Linked DNA regions of Homo sapiens: region 1 is linked to region 2. The links are contacts of gene promoters, found by promoter capture Hi-C in blood cells and fetal thymus (Javierre and others, 2016). All regions are on one chromosome and are shown on one strand. Each heading gives the region's core, a stretch centred on a gene start or on the middle of the fragment in contact. The rest is flanking DNA. Distances are from core to core; before and after follow the strand shown. Region 1 has its middle 99 kb from the start of LZTS1. Region 2 holds the start of NPM2 (nucleophosmin/nucleoplasmin 2).

Evidence for each region. Contacts are between HindIII fragments. The CHiCAGO score rates a contact against its expected background, and 5 or more counts as called.
Region 1: a contact is called between a fragment that was not itself captured here and the fragment with the promoter of NPM2 in region 2, in 1 of 17 cell types (total CD4 T cells). The highest score is 6.0, in total CD4 T cells.

The regions. Positions count from the first base shown.
Region 1 is chr8:20,400,599-20,405,847 of GRCh38, forward strand. No RefSeq gene overlaps it. Among named protein-coding and RNA genes, the nearest start is that of LZTS1, 99 kb to the left of the region's middle. The HindIII fragment of the contact is 1,493 bases long and covers 1,617-3,109 here.
Region 2 is chr8:22,022,884-22,028,263 of GRCh38, forward strand. It overlaps NPM2 (nucleophosmin/nucleoplasmin 2), which reads left to right and starts at 1,251. Exons shown (of 10, transcript NM_001286680.2): 1 at 1,251-1,740; 2 at 1,841-1,947; 3 at 2,333-2,423; 4 at 2,553-2,638; 5 at 2,764-2,889. The coding sequence starts at 2,366. RefSeq lists enhancers at 339-1,052, 1,053-1,765. The HindIII fragment of the contact is 16,503 bases long and covers 1-5,380 here.

The DNA of each region.
Region 1 (5,249 bases), core at 1,113-3,612, 1.6 Mb before region 2:
GCTACCCTGACTAGCTGTTGTGGTTCTCTCCATCTTCCCTTTACTTATTCTTTGGAACTGAGCTGGGGCAAAGAGAGAAGAATTTATGTGATTACTCATGGTGTGTTGGCTGCTCTTCTCTCTTGGTCATCTCTGTGGTTCCTCTTTTGGTGTTCACATAATGTCTGTCCCTTCTGTTGTCCATCATTGCTTCTGTCTGCCACTGACTGATTATAATGTTTTCTGTGTAGTCAATGTCCCATTGTTAATTCCTTTCCTCCTGAAACAACTACAAACTGGACAACATGTATGGAACAAGTTTTCAACACATTGGACAACAGGCAACAAGTGACAGTGATTCCGCGAGATGGGCAACAACAGGGTAAGCCGTAGGGTTGCCTCAGCTTGAGAAAGTTTCCAGGCTGTAGCACAAGGAAGGAGAAACAGGGTAGAGGTTGGAAGTCTGGGGAGGCCAAGGAGACTAGAATAGCAGGGCAGAGGGCCTGAGAGAAGAGGGTCAGATTAGGACTCTGGAGGGCTACAGAATCCCACTCAAGGCTTCCGCAGAGCACTGATGGGTGCAGATATGTGAGCACATTACTCAAGGGCAGAGAAAAATACCACCCCTCATTTTTTAAAATTATTATACTTTAAATTCTGGGTTACATGTACAGAACGTGCAGTTCTGTTACGTAGGTATACACGTGCCATGGTGGTTTGCTGCACCCATCAACCTGTCACCTACATTAGGTATTTCTCCTAATGTTGTCCCTCCCCTAGCCCCCCACTCCCCGCAGGCCCCAGTGTGTGATGTTCCCCTCCCTGTGTCCATGTGTTCTCATTATTCACCTCCCACTTATTGGTGAAAACATGTGGTGTTTGGTTTTTTGATCTTGTGATAGTTTGCTGAGAATGATGGTTTCCAGCTTCATCCATATCCCTGCAAAGGACATGAACTCATCCTTTTTTATGGCTGCATAGTATTCCATGATGTATATGTGCCACATTTTTTTAATCCAGTCTGTCATTGATGGACATTTGGGTTGGTTCCAAGTCTTTGCTATTGTGAATAGTGCCACAATAAACATATGGGTGCATGCGTCTTTATTGTAGAATGATTTATAATCCTTTGGGTATATGCCCAGTAATGGGATTGCTAGGTCAAATCGTATTTCTAGTTCTAGAACCTTGAGGAATTGCCACACTGTCTTACACAATGGTTGAACTAATTTACACTCCCACCAACAGTGTAAAAGTGTTCCTATTATTCCACAACCTCTCCAGCATCTGTTGTTTCCCGTATCTTGAGTTGATTTTTGTGTAAGGTGTGAGGAAGGGGTCCAGTTTCAGTTTTCTGCATTTGGCTAGCCAGTTTTCTCAACACCATTTATTAAATAGGGTTTCTTTTCCCCATTGCTTGTCTGTGTCAGGTTTGTCAAAGATCAGATACCACTCCCCAAAATTAGTGGAATATACTCTAGGGGGCAAAGAGGGTTGGGAATTGTTCTTGTTCATAGCAGCCAGAGTGAAAACAGTCATAATTTGTCAGAGTTTGGGTAGAGTACTCAGAAAGGTTTGATATAGTAATAGGAGAAAATTAGACCTAGATCTAATGTCACTCTGGTCTCACTTAACAAAGCTTAAAAGCAAGACATAAAAGGATCAAACTGTTTCCAATGAACTTAACTGCATCCCAGTACAAAGATCAATAATTTTAATAATCACATAAAAATATCCAGCACAAACATGGTAAATATTTCAGTGTCTTGCATTTGATAAAAAATTATGAAGCAGGAAAATATAACCGATAATAAGAAGAAAGCCTGGTTTAACATTTGAAAATCAATCAATGCAATTTTTTATGTTGACTAGTTAAAAGGAAAAAAGGCACCTGATTATCTTGATGAGTACAGAGAAAACACTACCAAAATCTAGCATCTATTTCTGATAAAAACCTCTCAGCAACCTAGGAATGGCAAGGTATTTCCTCAACCTAATAAAAGGTGTCCAGGAAAAACCTACAGCAGACATTGCATTTAATGATGAAAGACTGAAAGACTGAATGTCTTCCTCCTAAGATCAGTGAAAAGTTAAGGATGTTTACTTTCACTACTTTTATTCAACCCTGTACTGAAGAATTTGCCAAGGCAATAAGGCAAGAAAAATAAAACGTACCCAAATCATAAAGGAAGAAGTAAACCTGGCGAGGTGTGGTGGCTTATGCCTGTAATCCCAACACTTTGGGAGGCTGAGGCGGGTGGATTGCTTGAGGTCAGGAGTTCAAGACCAGCCTGGGCAACATGATGAAGCCTGTCTCTACTAAAAATACAATAACTAGCTGGGCATGGTAGCGTGTGCCTGTAATCCCAGCTACATGGAAGGCTGAGGCAGGAGAATTGCTTGAACCCAGGAGGCAGAGGTTGCACTGAGCCGAGATCGTGCCACTGCACGCCAGCCTGGGCAACAGACCAAGACTCTGTTTCAAAAAAAAAAAAAAAGTAAACCTGTCTTATTTCGTAGACAACCATAATCATCTAAGAAGAAAATCCTATGGAATCTATGAAAAAGTTCAGGAAATAATCATGGGACACAGGATATACGATCAGTACATAAAATTTAATTTTTTTTTTTTGAAATAGATTCTTGCCAATGCATTCTTACCAAGTGCAATTTGTTGCATTCTGAGTTGCATTCTGTTCATTTGCCCAACAGTGCTCATCCCGATGTGTGTTTACATACTCACTTGTTTACATATGATCACTTATGTCTTCTCTGTGACTTCCCACCTGATAGCAAACTCCATGAAGGCAGACACAGTGCCTGTTTTATTGCTTGGTGTTTGAACAGCACCTGTTACTATGCTAGCACATACCATCCAATAGATGGTACCTGTTGTTATCATAGCAGGGAGTCAGTAAAGGAATAAAATTAAATTAACAGATGAACTAGTAATTTTGCAGATGAAGAAACTGAGGTTCAGATAAACTCACTCACTAACCTGAGGCCACATGACTAATTGAGGTTCCACTGCAGGTCCCTGATCCCATGTAAACATGCTGCTCGCTGTGTCTCTCTCCTGCAAGCAGTGGAGTGGCATTTCAAGGAGTGTTTCCCTGCCTGGCTCAGGAGAAGCTTATGTTTCTGTACCAAATGTTACTCCCTATCTTACAAAATTTGGGAGAGGAATAAAGAGGCAGCCTGAATGGCTCTAACCCAGGGCTGACGCATAGTTAAGCTGTCCTGGAGCCCAGCAGGCAGTTTGTAAATTATTAGAATGTATCTGCCACATCTGGTGCCTGCACACTGTGTGGAATGTGTAGCCATGGAGTTCAAACCAAGACCTCACATTTATAGGGTTGTAAAGATGTAGAGAGACCGGTGGATCTTGTTTCTATTCCACCCAAAGGCTAAGGTTGCCTCGCATAGATCTTTGAGAGGCGGACAGGGCTAAGAACTACTGCTTTGCCATGGAGCTTCATGAAAGCAGATAAATCCATGTGTCTTTGCCAGAGTTACTGCGATGTATCCAGTCAGATACTTAAGATCACTTATCCTCATCACCTTATTTAGTAGGAATATGATATTTATATATCATCCTGCAAGGTGGTCCATATGACCTCCTTCAACAGAAAATGTCAAGTGTATCACTGAGTTTTCATGTTAACAAGCATTGAGAAGACACAATTTATTTTTCTCACTAAATTTTTGTCTTGGAGCTCACCGTGCACCCAGCAGTCAATGTGGCCTGAAGACTCAGTCCAAGTGGCTCTGAGAGGCTATGATGCTCTTCACTAAATGTGGCCCCTGCTGCAGACAGTGAGAAGCTGAGGATCCTGTGTCTGCAGTTGCCCAAAGCAGAATCTTTATCACCCACAACCTGTATCCAGAAAATAATTCCCTGTTCCTTGACTGAGGCAAATCTCAAACTCCTGCTGAGTTCCTGGTACTCAGATCTGACTCTGACTTTACATAGACTTCTGTGGCAGAGCTGGGTTTTTATTTAAGTGTTCTAGGACAACTTTTCCTACAACCTTCAGAGAAGGAAATGGGAGTGCGTGGTAGTAACACCCCAGGATGTAGGTGAAAGAGTAGAGACACTGGACTCAGAGAATGCTGGGGTCAAATCCGGGAATTGTTTCCTTCTTCCCTGATGGCTTTGAACCAGTTAGTTAACCTCTGTACTTCACTTTTTTTTTGCCTATAAATTGTGGAGAATAATGACCACCTCTAAGGGAAATGACAAGGGTTAATATGTATTATGATTATATGTTAAATTACTATAATATATACTATACCCTCTGGGAAGAGTCTGTTACCATGGTTGGCACATAGTAGGAACTCAGGAAGTGGTCACTATGATCACTTATCATATCCATTAAATGCAACAACATGTTCATCACAGCATTTTAAACGCAAACCTTGAAGTGATGTTAATGTATACCAATAAAAATGGCATCCACTCCTATGATGAAATATTGTACAACCATTGCAAATCATGATTCTTAAAGAAATGGGAAAATGCTCACAAAAGAAATGTCAAGTTGGAGAAAGATTCAAATCATAAATATATATCCTAATTTATGCAAGATAAACAAAAGGATGCTATGCACATATATAAATAGGACTTCATCCACTCCCTCAAAAAGATTTGCAAAAATATATCCCTGAAAGTTATCGTTTATCTAAATGGCAAGAGTAGGGGTGGTTTTCGTTTTCTTTATTCTTTTTTGTGCTTTCCAGATTTCCCACAATGAATATTGCCTGCAATTATAATACAAGAAAAAGCAAACATTATTACTTTAAAAAAATGATATGAGAAGCTACACCTCATTTTTCACAAAACAACAGCTGCTGAGAAACATTCACTTTCTGCTACATGCATTCAAATGCCCCAGCCATGGCCTGGCATGGTAGGGGGACAGCAGTGGCCCCCAGTCTGCCAGGCCAGCATCACAGATGGGCTCTCCACAGCACAGGGAGTGTCCAAGCCTTGCCAGGCTGTGGTTCCCTCCTCCTCTCTGCTGGCGTTTCCTCTGGTATTTATTCACTCACATAGCCTATAGAGTTAAAAGAGGTTTGTTTCTTTTCAGGCTGTTGAGTGCAGCCAGGGTAATTTAGTAGAAAAATGTCATGCTAATGCAATTCAAAGTTCAAATGATCTTTCATTTTGAGGGAAAGAAGAATGTGTGTGCAGTTGGAATGTTAAAACTCACTACTTGCCCTGCAATTCAAATAGAAATATGAGCTGCAGGGGCTACATAAGTCACATG
Region 2 (5,380 bases), core at 1-2,500:
CAAAGAAATGATAAATGTTTAGCCGGGCCCAGTGGCTCATGCCTGTAATCCCAGCACTTTGGGAGGCCTAGGCAGGAGGATCACTGAGGTCAGGAGTTCGAGACCAACCTGGCCAACATGGTGAAACCCCATCTCTAGTAAAAATATGAAAATTAGCTGGGCATGGTGGTAAGCACCTATAAACCCAGCTACTTGGGAGGCTGAGGCAGGAGAATCGCTTGAACATGGGAGGCAGAGGTTATAGTGAGCTGAGATGGCACCACCGCACTCCAGCCTGGGTGATGAGAGTGAAACGCCATCTCCAAAAAAAAAAAAAAAAGAAAAGAAATAATGTTGAAGGTACCCCAGTTACCCTGATTTGCTCATTACACATTGTGTGCAAGTATAAAAATATCATATGTACCCCATAAATATGTACAATTAATATGTATCAGTTTAAAAAGTTAATGACGATGGTACCAATATTATAGCCTCATTTAGCAGATGAGGAAACTGAGGCACTGAGCTATGAATTAACACACCTGAAATCACAGAGCACAGTCCAGACTTGAACCCAGACTGTCCAGTTCCAGTGTCCCAGCTCTAGGTCATGACCTCAGGGTCATCCCCCTCCCCTGCCTCCATTTAGCCTTCACTGTGACCCCCAGCTGCAGCCTGACATCAGTGTGATTATTCACGGGGTGGGTAGCCTGGGGCCACTGAAGGCCGGTTTGCTTTGAGCACTGCTCTCCAATGAGGCTGGAAGCCCTTTGAGGGGCTGTCGTATTCACCGCGGGATGCCCAGGTCCCGCCCAATTGGCGGAATCACCGTTTGTTGAGTGAATTCTTGAACGTCTGTGCATGGCATGCATGTGCCTGCCATTTGCTCATCTTTACCACACACTTGGCTGCAATGGCTGTCACCTTCAATAGGCGCCTTGCCAGGGACAGAGAGCTCAGGGACAGCCAAGGAGACTGGAACTGCTCAGCTGGGGATAGGGAGCCTAGGGGGCCCTGGCAGGCCCCCAAGCCTCTCCTGGGTTGTCCTGGCCAATTCACAGGGAGGCTGACCCCAGCTTCCAGGAATAAAAGATTCTGACCTCTCCGTGGCAATGAGCCCCTGTCCCAGGGGTGTGCGGGAGATCCCTGGTTATCTGAGGTGTCTCCAGGGTATATCCGCTGAAACCCCACTTCCTCTTCACTGCCCACTGAGCCTGGGACCAGCTGCTGGTCACGTGCTTGGCCCTGTAGCGTCGCTAGCCGTGCTCCTCAGTGTGCTCCCCGCCCCCTGCCGCGGCGCCTCGCCTCCCGGCTCACCTCCCCACCCCACCTGCCCGCTGCGGCTCTCCGCGGGAGATCTCACCGTTCTGGAGACAGGGCTCGCTCGCTCTCACGGTAGGCTGGAAGAACGGGCTGTCTGGGCCTTAGGAAAGGCCCATGCTGTATAAGGCATGGGGAAAGGAAAGGAAGAAAGGCAACGAACAAGAAGGAGGGCTTCCAACTGCAGCTTCCTGCCGGCTGCAGGCCTCCCTTCCTAAGCTGAGCTGAGGCTTCCTCTCCATGGGCTGGGGAGGGGGCGCCAGGAGGCCTCGGCGGGTCCGCAATTGGCCGGGACAGCTTCTCACGAAAGGTCCTGGGCCGGCATCATCAGCCTCACCTGGGAACTGGTTAGAACTACAAATTCCCTCGGCCCCACCCAGACCGACGCCAAGGGCAGCTGTGGAGTGGGGCGCGGCAATGCGCCCCTTAACAGCCCTCCAGGTGATTCTGCCGCGCAGAGGAGGAAAGAATGGGAGAAGGGAAGGGGAGAGGGAGGCGGCTTCTTTGCGACTAATTGGACACCTGCCCTTCCCCTTCCCAGGCTTCTTAGCCCGGGCTTGGACAGCCGCCTTCCGGCCAGAGGGGATGAGGTTGCGCTGCGCTCCGGGAGCGCCGATGGCGTGACTGGCCCCGCGCGGAGCAGCGACAGTAAGGCTGTGTGGGGGGAGCTGGGACCTAAGCCGCGCGCACACCCCTTTCTCTGCGTCTGGTGGAGGTGCACAGAGGCTTTTGAGTCAGGCCCAAGCGCAGCCAGGTGACCTCCCCGCGGCCTTTCAAGCCTGAGCTCGGTGGACAGCTCCCTCTCCCGTGAGTCCCGCTGTCCTGTACGCGCCCGGTCGAGCCCCGGGCTGCGCACCCCGCTAGGAGGTGGGTACTCGTCCTCCAGGAGTTGCCGGTGAGCCCTTGACCGTGGCAGGTCCCCTCCAGCCGCGAGCGACCCCTCAGTACCTGCCGATGCCTGCTGGTCTCTGGCATCCTCCAGTCGAGGGTCAGGGTCAGGGAGCAAGGCCTCACGCGGGCGCCCTCCTTGCAGCTGCCCGGCCAGCCCGCTTCTCTGCCCGGAGCCATGAATCTCAGTAGCGCCAGTAGCACGGAGGAAAAGGCAGTGACGACCGTGCTCTGGGGTGAGTGGGGACTCAGGCTCCTTCCCAGAGACACGCCCCACCTCCGGTGCGCGGCAGCTTGGGGCGCAGGTGAGCCCCTCCTTTGGGAACGAATGGAGGGCCCCACTTCCCTCCCTTTCTCCTCCGCAGGCTGCGAGCTCAGTCAGGAGAGGCGGACTTGGACCTTCAGACCCCAGCTGGAGGGGAAGCAGAGCTGCAGGCTGTTGCTTCATACGGTAGGTGTTCCCAAAAGAGGGGAGGAAGATGGTGTCCGGGAACTTTCTGGTCCCAACGGAGGGCTATGGATTTCTCCCGTCGGCCCTCAGGGTGATGAGGGGCCTCTATTTTCAACCCCGCTCAGATTTGCTTGGGGGAGAAAGCCAAAGAGGAGATGCATCGCGTGGAGATCCTGCCCCCAGCAAACCAGGAGGACAAGAAGATGCAGCCGGTCACCATTGCCTCACTCCAGGCCTCAGTCCTCCCCATGGTGCGCATTTCCCTGCTGGCTGGAAGACTGCTGTCAGCCTCACCCTCACCCTTGGGTGGGGATGGACACACACGAGGGTGCATTCACCCTACAGAAATGAGCCATGCTAGGGAGGTAGCACAGCCCATGCAGAAAGCCGGGGTCCAGCCCAGCTCACCCCTTCCTAGAGCTGTGTGACCTTGGGCCAGTTAAGCTGTCTGCAAAAATTACACTTTAAACCAGGGGTCCCCAACTGCCGGGTCAAGGACCAGAACTCGTCCTGTTAGGAACCAGGCAGCACAGCAGGAGGTGAGCAGCCAGCTAGCCAGCATTACCCCTGAGCCCTGCCTCCCGTCAGATCAGAGCGGCATTAGATTCTCAGAGGAGCATGAACCCTATGGTAAGCTGTGCGTGCGAGGGGTCTAGGTTGCATGCTTCTTATGAGAATCGAATGCCTGATCTGAGGTGGAGCAGTTTCATCCCAAAACCACCCCCCACTCCCACCCCATCCATGCAAAAATTGTCTTCCAGGAAACCATTCCCTGGTTCCACAATGATTGGAGACTGCTGCTTTAAACCATTCACTGCTAGTGACAGGAACATGGTCGATCTACATATTGGTTGTGCATCCAGAAATTCTCTAGTTTCTAATAACTTAAGTTTTCTATGCATATAATAATTGTGAATAATGGCAGTTCTTGCCTTTTTTTTTTTTTTTTTTGAGATGGAGTTTCACTCTGTCACCCAGGCTGGAGTGCAGTGGTGCAATCTCAGCTCACTGCAATTTCTGCCTCCCAGGTTCAAGCAATTCTAGTGCCTCAGCCTTCGGAGTAGCTGGGATTACAGGTGTGCACCACCATGCCTGGCTAATTTTTGTATTTTTAGTAGAGACAGGGTTTCACAATGTTGCCCAGGCTAGTCTCGAACTCCTGACCTCAGGTGATTCGCCCGCCTTGGCCTCCCGAAGTGCTGGGATTACAGGCGTGAGTCACCACGCCAGGTCTTTTTTCTTTCTTTCTTTCTTTTAATCCTACTGCACTGGCTAGGCCCTGCAGTGGAATATTGGGTGAACATGAGATCAGGTCTGACATCCTTATTTCCTTCTTGTTTTTTAAAAAAGAAGCATTTGGTAAGTACATTTTGTCAGGTTAAGGAAGTCCCCATCTAAAACCCTCTGCTTTTAAAAAATTGCTTTGCTTTGAAATCACTAGAGGGGGTTAAATTTTACCAAATGCTTTTCTATTCATATGATTCTAGGTTCTTTAGTCCACGTGGTAAATTATATGAAGATAATAATATCTGAGTTCCTTTGCCATCCTGGGATAAATACTACTGGTCATGTTACAAATTCTAGATTTGTTTTACTCATATATTGAGCCCTTTTTTTTACCTGTATACATGTGAGGTTGGCCTATAAGTGATAGTATTTAGGTGTTCAGGACATGCTAGCCTCATGCACTGAGGGTGGAGGGTTCTCTCCTATTCCCTGGAACAGTGAATGGAAGACTAGGATCAGCTGTCCTTGGAGGTTTGGGAGACCCCTCTGTCAAACTGCCCTCAGACTTTCCTGTTCTATTTACACATACTTTGCAGGCGATCTCATCCTTTCCTGTGGTTTTCAAGACCATCTAAACAAATGAAGACTCAGGAACTTATTTCTGTAAACTCAACCTCTCTTGAGCTCCAAGTCCTATATCCAACTAAATGGCTTTGATAGATATCTAATAAATATCCCAAATTTAACATGTCTAAATCCACATATTCAATTTTTATCTCTAATCCACCCGCCTCCCCTTCAACCTGATTTTCTCTCAGAAAACAGCTGTTTTTCCAGTTAGCCAAGACAAAGCTCTTTTTTTTTTTTTTTCCCCTGAGATGGAGTTTCACTCTTATCACCCAGGCTGGAGTGCAATGGTGCGCTCTCGGCTCACTGCAACCTCCGCATCCCATGTTCGAGTGATTCTCCCATCTCAGCCTCCCAAGTAGCTGGGATTACAGGCATGTTCCACTACGCCAGGCTAATTTTTGTAATTTTAGTAGAGATGGGTTTTTGCCATGTTGGTCAGGCTGGTCTCGAACTCCTGACCTCAGGTGATATACCCGCCTTGGCCTCCCAAAGTGCTGGATTTACAGGCATGAGCCACCACACCCAGCCAAATCCTCTTTTTTCCCACACCCATATCTGATCTACCAGCAGTCCTGTTGTCTCTGCCCCCATCTTATACCCCAATGGACCACATCTCATCATCTTCCCTGCTACCCCTGGTACAGGTGACAGTTGCCTGTGGCTCCATTTTAATTGCACAGCCTTCCACCTGGTCTACCTACCATCACATGGTCCCCTGTAGTCTATTCCAGGGTAGGCAAACTAGAGGGCTTGAATCTAGGCTGCTGCCTGGTTTTGTAAGTAGTTTTACTGGGAACACAGCCACACTCATTCGTTTGTACCCTGTCCATGGCTGCTTTTCCTCCCTAACAGCAGATTTGAGTAGTCTCCATGGAGACCATATGG